Linked DNA regions of Homo sapiens: all the other regions are linked to region 1. The links are contacts of gene promoters, found by promoter capture Hi-C in human tissues and cell types (Jung and others, 2019). All regions are on one chromosome and are shown on one strand. Each heading gives the region's core, a stretch centred on a gene start or on the middle of the fragment in contact. The rest is flanking DNA. Distances are from core to core; before and after follow the strand shown. Region 1 holds the start of DIABLO (diablo IAP-binding mitochondrial protein). Region 2 overlaps EIF2B1 (eukaryotic translation initiation factor 2B subunit alpha). Region 3 overlaps MPHOSPH9 (M-phase phosphoprotein 9).

What was found. Contacts are between HindIII fragments. The study calls those that stand out against the background at their distance.
Region 2: a fragment that was not itself captured here is called in contact with the fragment with the promoter of DIABLO in region 1 in 1 of the 25 tissues and cell types used here (dorsolateral prefrontal cortex).
Region 3: a fragment that was not itself captured here is called in contact with the fragment with the promoter of DIABLO in region 1 in 1 of the 25 tissues and cell types used here (IMR-90 fibroblasts).

Annotation. Positions count from the first base shown.
Region 1 is chr12:122,224,438-122,227,923 of GRCh38, reverse strand. DIABLO (diablo IAP-binding mitochondrial protein) reads left to right here and starts at 1,872. Exons shown (of 6, transcript NM_001371333.1): 1 at 1,872-1,959; 2 at 3,280-3,412. The coding sequence starts at 1,910. LOC128125816 reads left to right here and starts at 1,360. Exons shown (of 1, transcript NM_001414998.1): 1 at 1,360-1,494. The coding sequence starts at 1,360. The coding sequence ends at 1,494. LOC101593348 (a long non-coding RNA gene) reads right to left here and starts at 1,482. Exons shown (of 1, transcript NR_103497.1): 1 at 1-1,482. RefSeq lists enhancers at 1-726, 727-1,558, 1,508-1,802, 1,856-2,095, 2,106-2,155 and 1 more and a silencer at 1,426-1,565. The HindIII fragment of the contact is 13,255 bases long and covers 1-3,486 here.
Region 2 is chr12:123,620,798-123,624,283 of GRCh38, reverse strand. It overlaps EIF2B1 (eukaryotic translation initiation factor 2B subunit alpha), which reads left to right. Exons shown (of 9, transcript NM_001414.4): 8 at 1,523-1,648; 9 at 2,364-3,486. The coding sequence ends at 2,528. DDX55 (DEAD-box helicase 55) reads right to left here. Exons shown (of 14, transcript NM_020936.3): 14 at 3,341-3,486. Among named protein-coding and RNA genes, the nearest start is that of SNORA9B, 5.8 kb to the right of the region's middle. RefSeq lists an enhancer at 1,708-2,907. The HindIII fragment of the contact is 7,939 bases long and covers 1-3,486 here.
Region 3 is chr12:123,225,466-123,228,951 of GRCh38, reverse strand. MPHOSPH9 (M-phase phosphoprotein 9) reads left to right here. Exons shown (of 24, transcript NM_022782.4): 3 at 1,336-1,489. Among named protein-coding and RNA genes, the nearest start is that of MPHOSPH9, 5.9 kb to the left of the region's middle. The HindIII fragment of the contact is 6,998 bases long and covers 1-3,486 here.

The DNA.
Region 1 (3,486 bases), core at 623-3,122:
TCTCGGTCACTTAAGCTTGGTTCTCACACCCGTGCATGCTTGCACTTGCATGTTTTTTAAGACAACAGCTTTTGCTTTAGTAGTTGGGCGGTCGCAAGTGAACACTGTCCAGTGGTTCTTCTGGTGCCCAGACTCGGAGGAGATGGGACTGCTCTCAATGTGTTTGTTAGAAACGAAACTGTTCGCACTATAACCCCATAACCCCTTACAATGTTCAGAAAAAAACAAGAAGGGGCTTGAAATACCCACTAGTGTGCCGCCTGCTCAGCCCATCTGGGTCTGTGAAACCACATCTGAGCCCTGTGGGCTGTGGTGGCGACACAGGCAGAGGGCGGGCAGGGTTGCCAGCGCCCCGCCTGGGCTAGGAACGCCTGTGCGCAGCTCCCTGAGAGCTCGGGGACCACGCGGAGGTTGTAATTGGTCTCTAGACCACACCTAGTTGTTGAGTGCCGCTGCTTGAAAATCTCAGTTCTGCCGAGATCGCAGAATACACACAAGCTACCTTTGGGCACCAGAGCAGACAGAACCGCGGAGCTTCAGGGTGGAAGATTCGTGGAAACTTTGCCAAGTAAGTGAGGTGGGGAGAGAAGGAAGCCAGTGCCTGACACTGTGGGGAGTGGCTGGGCAAAGCAGCATTGGAGGTGTTGTAGGGTTCCTACTGTCTGATGAGCTGGTGTGGGGTTCTTACTGTCTGATGTCGTCTCTGGTGGAAGTTAGCAGGGCTGGGGCAGATGCACAGAGCACGGTGGCGGGGGTGAGCCCAGGATCGGATTGATGCCCACCCACCACCTGGCACCCTGCAGTCCCAGCTGGCCAGAAGGCAAGCATGCTGGACCACAAAGCAAAGATCCTCCAGCTCTGCTGCTGGCAAGCCTTGGGGCCAGGGGACTCACAGAAGAGCAGGTTTGGGCCTGTGCCTTCCTCCTGCCCAAATGGGTCTCTCTCCCCTTCCCCTTCCAGCCAGGGCCGCAGCTGGGGCTGCAGCTTGAGTGACGGGAAAAGAAAGGTTTACTCCACCAGCGCATTAGCGGCACTCACAGCATTAAAAATGCAGGAGGTGGTGGGAGGAGCGGGCCAGGGAGGAAAACTCATGCAGCTGCGGGGCGCGGGGAAGAGCCGGGCTTCTGCCTCCTCAGCCCGGATCAGAGCCGAAGAACGAGGGCAGTTTGGGTTGAGAAGGATTCTCCAGTGTAACCGAGAAGCGAGCGTCCAGGAGGCTGTTGGGGAGGTCGGCACTGTGGGCTTCCTGGCCTTCGTTTGCTGTTTCGAGGGCCAGGACCTCGTGTGTTCCCGTCCGCCCCTCTGGGACGGCGCCAGCCCGGCAGGCCGCCGACCGTCCTGGGGCTCCCGCGCAGCGCGATGCCGGCCTCGTCCACCGTCCACGTGCTGCAGCTGCTGCGGGAGCTGCTCGCCTTCGTGCTCCTCAGCTACACGGTGCTCATCGGGGCGCTGCTGCTGGCCGGCTGGACCACTTACTTCCTGGTGCTGAAGTGACAGCGCCGTCGCCGCGCCCGGCCCCGCCTCCCGCCCGGCCCCGCCTCCCGCCCGGCCCCGCCTCCCTAACTCACCAGGAAATTCCCTTCAAGCCCTGGCCCGAACTGAGTCCCCGCCCACCCGCCAGCGTCACGGCGCCCGACTCAGCTCCGCGCCGGACCCACCTCCGCGCCCTCAGGCCCTGCATATGCCCCGCCCCGCGCGGAAGTTCCGGCGGTTGGTTGCCTTGCGCGGCCGTTACAGCCTTTGCCCTAAGCCTCGCCCCCTTTCCCCCTGCCTGCCCAATCCCGACTGCTTCCTTGGGTGGGGGCGTGGCTATGGGGCGAGGCGCTCTCAGGTGGAGGCCGTGCCCCGCTCCGCGCTCACGAAGCTGCGTCACTTCCGGCGTGTGCGTCTGGCGTCCGCGCGCTGCACAATGGCGGCTCTGAAGAGTTGGCTGTCGCGCAGCGTAACTTCATTCTTCAGGTACCGCTGCGGCCGCGTAGAGGGGACAGGACCAGAGGGAGGGACCGACGCGGACAGCGCTGTGGCCCGGCCCACGGCGCCCGCCTTCCTTACGCGCTCATCTCTCGTCCGCCCAGCTGGGTCGCGGCGTCTCGCTCCGGTCGGGAGGACTGAGGACAGCCCCGCCTCCGCCCCCTGGGTCAAGCCCGGCTTCCTTTTCAGTTCGTCCATCTTCTAGAAACGAGTCCCCGAGACCCCGGGCTGCCTTCTTGGGGCTGCTCCGCCTCCTGACCAGCCCTCGTCAGCCACTCGAAGTCCCTGAGGAGACGTGGAGAGGAGGAGGGACACGGCATGGGGGGAGTCCGGGAAGGGAGACGAGCGTCTGAAGACGTCCTCCCGAGGGCAGAAGGGGCCGGGGGAGCTGGCGCAGGGCTCTCTACCTAGCGCTGCAGGCTCCTGGGCGATTGTAGCGGGACCGTCACACACAACTGGCACCCAGGCCAGGGGTCCAGAGCTAAATTCTGCCTGCAGGAGCGGTTATTGTGGCATCCGTTTCTAAAAAGTTTAAAGGCAACATTTTATTTTATTTTAATTTTTTTGAGACAAGATCTGCCTCTGTCGCCCAGGCTGGAGTGCAGTGGCGAGATCTCAGCTCACTGCAACCTGTGCCTCCCGGCTTCAAGCGATTCTCAGCCTCAGCCTCCCGAGTAGCTGGGATTGCAGGCGCCCGCCACCACGCCCGGCTAATTTTTTTTTTTCTTTTTGTTTTGTTTGAGACTCAGTCTCGCTCTGTTGCCCAGGCTGAAGTGCAGTGGGGCGCTCTCGGCTCACTGCAACCTCTGCCTCCCAGGTTCAAGCGATTCTCCTGCCTCAGCCTCCCGAGTAGCTGGGATTACAGGAGCGTGCCACCACTCCGGGCTAATTTTTGTGTTTTAAGTAGAGATGGGGTTTCACCATGTTGGTCAGGCAGATTTCGAATTCCTGACCTCAAGTGATCCACCCGCCTCGGCCTTTATTTACTTATTTTTTTTTAATAGACACGGGGTCATGTTGCCAGCCATGTTGCCCAGGCTGGTCGTGAACTCCTGGGCTCAAGTGATCCTCCCGCCTTGCCCTTGGCCTTCCAAGTGCTAGGATTACAGGCGTGAGCCACCAACACCCTGCCTGAGGCAACATTTTAAACTTGGTGTATGTTGAAAATTTCAAAACCCCTCAGCTGTCCTGCATCCTCATTTAGGTTCCTGCTTGGCTCGAGTTTGAGTTTACAGCCCCTGCAAGTAAATCCAAGAGCCTGTTACAGATTGGCGGTCGTGCCTTATGAAATCTGACTTCTACTTCCAGGTACAGACAGTGTTTGTGTGTTCCTGTTGTGGCTAACTTTAAGAAGCGGTGTTTCTCAGAATTGATAAGACCATGGCACAAAACTGTGACGATTGGCTTTGGAGTAACCCTGTGTGCGGTTCCTATTGCACAGGTACTGTCGTGTGCAGTGATTCTTATCTAGTGTACCGTGTCCTCTTGAAGTCTCAAGTGGGCGGTGAAGCATTA
Region 2 (3,486 bases), core at 281-2,780, 1.4 Mb before region 1:
GTCTCAGTAAAAAAAAAAAAAAAAAAAGTGTAATTTATATTTATACAAAATTGGCTTGAATTGGAATTGGGGTTTGTCTGGTTTTTGCTTTATTTATGTGTATATGTATGTTTTATTTATGCATATATATACACACACATAATATATATACACAAATATTTTTAAAATATTATTTATATATTTACATATAAAGTATGTATGTATAAAATACGTGTATTTATATATAAATATTATATATATTTTAAAATAGAGACACATTCACTCTGTTGCCCAGGCTGTAGTGTAGTACAGTGATCATAGCTTACTGCAGTCTTGAACTCCTAGCCTGAAGCAATCTTTCCACTTCCCAAAGTGCTAGGATTACAGGCATGAGCCACTGTGGCCGGCCTGTCATTTGTTTTCATTTTAATTGAGCACATTTGACCTCAATTTATTACAATCTCTCTCTCCATTATTTAATTTAGAAAAGCTTCATGAAAGCTTTTTTTAGTTAAAATATATGTAACATAAGGCCGGGCGTAGTAGCTCACGCCTATAATCCCAGCACTTTGGGAGGCTGAGGCAGGTAGATCATCTGAGGTCAGGAGTTCGAGACCAGCCTGGCCAACATGGTGAAACCCCATATCTACTAAAAATACAAAAAATTAGCTGGGCATGGTGGCGGGTGCCTGTAATCCCAGCTACTTGGCAGGCTGACGCAGGAGAATCGCTTGAACCTGGGAGGCGGAGGTCTGCAGGCAGAGTGTTGAGTCACATGGTAACTATATATTTAACTTTCAGAAACTAATGATTTTCCACAGCAGCTGCACTACTTTACATTCCCACTAGCAAAGCACAAAGGTTCCAATTTCTCTACATCCTTGCCAACACTTGTTTTTTTAAATTTTTTTATTTTTTGAGATGGAGTTTCACTCTTGCTGTCCAGGCTGGAGTGCAATGGCACAGTCTTGGCTCACTGCAACCTCCAGTGCCCGGGTTCAAGCGAGTCTCCTGCTTCAGCCTCCCTAGTAGCTGGGATTACAGGCACCCCCCATCCCACCATGCCCAGCTAATTTTTTGTATTTTTAGTAGAGATGGGGTTTCCCTATATTGGCCAGCTGGTCTCAAACTCCTGACCTCAGGTGATCCACCCACCTCGGCCTCCCAAAGTGCTGGGATTACAGGCGTGAGCCACCACATCCAGCCTCTAGTGGCTGTTTCTATATCCTTTGAGAAACATTTATTTTTTTGATTCCAAAGTCAGAATTAGATATATCTAATATATGTATTAGATATATGTATATCTATATTATATACATAACTTTCTATTGCTGTTTTTTAATTGTTCCTTTATTGTAATTGAGACGAGGTCTCACCGTGTTGCCTAGGCTGGTCCCAAACTCATGGGTTCAGGTGATCCACCCACCTCGGCCTCCCAAAATGCTGGAATACAGGCATGCACCACTGTGCCCGGCCCGCTTTTCTGTGGCTTCTACTTCAGATGCACTCTAGAGCTCATCCATTCCATTTTCTGCCTTCCCAGATTGGAACCAACCAGATGGCTGTGTGTGCCAAAGCACAGAACAAACCTTTCTATGTGGTTGCAGAAAGTTTCAAGTTTGTCCGGCTCTTTCCACTAAACCAGCAAGACGTCCCAGATAAGTTTAAGGCAAGAGTTTTACATATTTGAAGGGGTACTAAAGTCTAAACAGAAACCTTTGGAAATTGTAGTCCTAAGAATGTTCCAGTAATTTTTTCACTTCCTATTGCTACTTTCCCCAACACTTGGAATACAAAGATAAATTGGTGATTGGACTCACACATTTGTCCCTAGAACTTCAGTCTTTCAGTCTCTTTAAGTAGCACCATAGATGGGTGGAGAGGAAGCCCGAAGCTGGTGGGTAAGTCCCAGCTTTGGGCTTAACTGAGCTCAGCTCCCATCACCACAACTTACAAACTGTGCGAGTTGAGGCAAGTCCTTTCATTTCAACCTCTGAACCGGTTTTCTTGTCTGTAAAATGGCATAGCAGTATCTGACAGGGTCATGAGGATTCTAAGATAATCTTAGCACAGTCCCTGGCACGCTGCAAGCTCTCTATTGTGACTCTCGATCTTCCCTTGAGAGGTCTGGAGAAGTTAATCCGGCATGAGAATGAGGGGACATGGGATTTAAGTTTGTTACACTACAGCTCTCAGCCAGCACACTGCCATGATCTGGCTCATGGCCACAACTCTGCCCTCGTCTCTAGTGTCCTGCATAGCTTAGTTTCTCCCATTTTCAGAGAGCAGTCTCAGGAAGTAGCACACTGATCACTCACACCAAGGCCCTACCAGGTCAGAGCACTAAATATTCAGTGCCGACTAATGTGTACTTCTCTCCTCAGTATAAGGCAGACACTCTCAAGGTCGCGCAGACTGGACAAGACCTCAAAGAGGAGCATCCGTGGGTCGACTACACTGCCCCTTCCTTAATCACTCTGCTGTTTACAGACCTGGGCGTGCTGACACCCTCAGCAGTCAGCGATGAGCTCATCAAGCTCTATCTGTAACCTGTGAGCCCTTTCCTGCCAAGGTGCAGCTTACGTAGTTGAGGCAGGGTGAGTAGCTGCTTGACACCCCAGTGAGTCAGGCCAAAACTGAGATGTGTTTAATGAAGATTTATGGAGTAAGGACTTAAAATCATACATCTTGGAGAACCTTTCTTACTCATTTCAGTCCCATCTAAAAATGTGTCAGCTATTCTAAATCCCAACTTAAATTGTTCTTACGGTTTCTAGAAACTTTCCTTTTCAGTTTCCAGAAATACAAGTTAGATAATTGGCTACTTAACTGATGAAAGATGAGCCCAAGTCCACCTGTCTTCATCCTCCCCTGCACTCCAGACTGATCTGCCTAAAGCACGCGAGATGCAGGCGAAAAGCAGCCACACCCCTCTGCCACAAATGACCAACAGCTGGTCAGGACGTTACACGCGGTGCCTTGTAAGAGGCAAGAAACACTTGCTGAATCTGCATCTGGCTTCCAGTGGTAAGCACATTCCTCAGCAGGATCAAGCCAAACAGTAAAAACTACCAAGAGAACACGAGGAAGGCAGAAACGATGTTTAGCAACAGTATTCTGCATGGTTCACTGCTTAAGAAAATGCCTTCTGGAATATTTGTAAACTGAAATTCTGTATGTGTAAGAGATGTTTAAATATGTTTGGGTCCTAAACAGCTTTTTAAAATTATACTTGGGAATAAATTCAGCATCTTTTCAAATAAACTCTATGAAAGACGCTGATGTGGTGTTGCATCAATACTGCAAGCTGACCAGGCCATCTAGGGGAAAACACTGTCCAGCTACATTTACACACTTAAGACCCAGGCAATCAGGACACCATTTATTCAACAGGAGGCATAAAAACTATAATTCTCTTTCCCGGAATATGACTTAATCCCTCTGTTTTTCAGCTATTCACCAATAAAACAATACTGTGACTATTAACACAGAAAAACCCCAGCACAT
Region 3 (3,486 bases), core at 592-3,091, 1.0 Mb before region 1:
CTTGCAGAAAGTTGGCCACGCATTTTGGTTCTTGTATTACTTGGTGGTCCCTTTAAAGTACACTTCTAGAAGATATTCCTGTTAGAACAGTGTTTGATTTGGCTGGAGGAAGCTAACTGTGCCTTGCTAGTGAAAATTAGGCAATTAAACTTGTCTTCCTTTTCATTGTGACTGGCAGTTAAATTGGCCACATTTAAACTTGATTATTACAGCTATGTAAAATCCTTTACTGATAACATATATTCTTTCCTTTGAATTTTTTTTTTTGACGGAGTCTTGCTCTGTCACTAGGCTGGGGTGCAGTGGTGCCATCTCAGCTCATTGCGATCTCCGTGTCCTGGGTTCAAGGGATTCCCCTGCCTCAGCCTCCTGATTGGCTGGGACTACAGGCACGCACTACCACACCCGGCTAATTTTTTGTATTTTAGTAGAGATGGTGTTTCACCATGTTGGCCAGGACAGTCTTGATCTCCTGACCTGGTGATCCGCCCGCCTTGGCCTCCCAAAGTGCTGGGATTACAGGCGTGAGCCACTGCGCCTGGCCTCCTTTGAATTTTTAGTAATATTTTCACTGGTCCTAACTATTATTTTATTGTTATTTTTATTTATTTTTTTAAACAAATTATTTGTGAAAGAAAGCAGGATATCAAGCAGTAAATAAATTAAAATGATCTTTTGGTGACTAGATTTTAAGTACATTTTAATGTCCTGAAATATATTGTGTGTTTATAAAACAAATCCGAAATAACTTACCTGAAGTTTGGAAAAGCAGTACTCCTGGAAAAACTCAGTGCTGTTTTACACACTGAGTAGGCTAAATAAGTCCTGAATATTTGCTGCTGATTTGCTTGGCACAACTTTTATGCAGAGATAGTGCAGAGATAAGCATCAGCTTATCGTACCAAATTAAGGGTGTCCAGTGAACAAGATTTGACTGTCATTTGGGGCAGTGGGGAAAGAATCCCCACTGCACAATGAAGGGCTGTTCTGAAAGTTGGGGGAAATAATCCTCTGGAATAGCTGAGATCAGAGAAGCTGGAAATTAATCTTATTGTTTAGCACAGACTTTTTCTATTTTCTGCCGATCCTTTGGAGTGTTCTCTCACTTCTGGAGAAGGTCTTCTTGTTGTGTTCTTAAAAAGAGTACAGTGCGGTCTTTTTACTGGCCGTTTCCTTTTGTGGAGCAACTTGTGATCAGATTTTGAACAAATGAGGTGCCATTAGAAGGATTAAATGTCAGTGGTTTTGTACTGCTCTGCTAAATCTTGAACTGCTGAATTATTCAACACTTTGATAGAATGAAGAAAACCATTTGAATTATTTATGTTTCAACAGAAGTAGTCCCCACCTTAGTACAAATGGGGTATCCTCTTTCTCAGGGAAGACCAGACCATCTGTAATTCAAGGTACAGTTGAAGTCCTAACTTCTTTAATGCAAGAGCTACAAAACAGTGGAAAGACTGATTCGGAACTTTGGAAAAACTGTGAGGTATCTAATTTTGTTTTATTTTTGGAATTTTAAAATAATTATGTTAAAACATACCTCTACTAAACTCTAAATTATTAGAAATTTATGTCCTGAAGAGCATGACACTTTTAAGTTAATGCTAAAGTGGTCAAGTATATTAATTTGGGAATGATATTGAATGAATGGGAAAAAGGTGATCAAAAGTATTTTTTAACAATATATTACTGATTAGACATACTAATTTGTATATTAAATATGAACTAAAACATTGTCTTGGTTCAGAGACCTGAGAATCCCAAAATTATTAAAATTGTTACTAATTGTAATGTTGTCAGTAACTTATATGGAATTGTCATCATTTTGAAAAACCTAAATCCACTTTGAAATATTTTCAATGTTCTAATTATAAATTGAAGCTTCTATTTAGTACCTTACCATATTCAGCTGTGATACATTGCATTATATTGTTTTCAGATCAGTGGTTCTTTCTTTGGTTCATAGGTTAAATTGTGATATAAAAATGTAACAGTTAAAAGAATACTTACATGGCCGAGCACAGTGGCTCACGCCTGTAATCCCAGCACTTTAGGCGGCCAAGGTGGGAGGTTTGGTTGAGGCCAGGAGTTTGAGACTAGCCTGGGCAAGATAGCGAGACCCTGTCTCTACAAATATAAATACATAAATAAATTAGCTGGTCATGGTGGCACGGTGTCTGTAGTCCTAGCTACTTGGGAGGCTGATGTGGGAGGATCACTTCAACCCAGGAAGTCAGGGTTGCAGTGAGCTATGATCACAGCACTACACTCCAGCCTGGGTGACAGACTGAGACCCTGTCTCTCTCTATATATAAAAAAAGAGAACCTGTAATCCCAGCACTTGAGGCAGAGGTGGATAGCTTGTGCCCAGAGTTTGTGACCTGCTTGGGCAACATAGCAAGACCCCCTCAGTAAAAAAAAAAAAAAGTATATATAAATTTTATTTCATAGGATAATGCTCAAGATAGACTTTCCTAAGGCTGGATTTGATAGTTTTTTATAGAAATGTTTAAACCATTATTAATTCTTAGAAAGCACTAGATCTTGTTTTAAACGTTAATTGTACTTTTAGAAGCATAATTTGTGTTATTTTTCAGAATGTAGAGTAAGCGAAATGAAAGATTACCTGGTTTAAGAATTCGATAGCAGCAACTGCTAAGTGTAATTATTTATATCCATTATCCATAATTATTGAAATTATAAAAAAGTATTATTATATGCTTAAAAAATTGAGTTTTCAGTTTTTATACTTTATGCTTGTTTGCATATAATAATCAGTATGCACTAACGTGAAAGACCTTTAAAAATGCCCATGCAAATGCAATTAAAAATGGAATGTTTTATTAAGTATATTAAATGCTTCCCTTAATGTATCTACTCATAAGCTTTTTGTTTATTTGTTTGTTTGTTTTTGAGACAGAGTCTTGCTCTGTTGCCCAGGCTGGAGTGCTATGGTGCGATCTCGGCTCACTGCCACCACTGCCTCCCAGGTTCAAGTGATTCTCCTGCCTCAGTCTCCCGAGTAGCTGAGATCACAGGCGAGCGCCACCATGCCCAGCTAATTCTTGTATTTTTAGTAGAGAAGGGGTTTAGCCATGTTGGCCAGGCTGGTCTCGAACTCCTGACCTCAGGTAATCTGCCTGATTTGGCTTCCCAAAGTGCTGGGATTACAGGCATGAGCCACCGTGGCTAGCCCTTATTAGCTTTTGATAACTGAATTAACATGCTTTAGGACAAAGGAGGCATTGCCACAATGTATTTTAACTTCTGGAAAATTTGTGTTTAACTAGAAATTGTTACTTTTGATAATTAGAAATCAACCTTTTTTTTTTGACATTAGCATCTTAAGTCAGAATCAGAATATATTCCCTGCCCCACCTCTCCTCTCCCCTCCCTCCCACCCCCTCCCTCCCTCCCTTCCTTTCTTCCTTCCTTCCTTTTCTTTGTTTCTTTTTCTCCTCTTTCATTCTCTCTCTTTTCTTT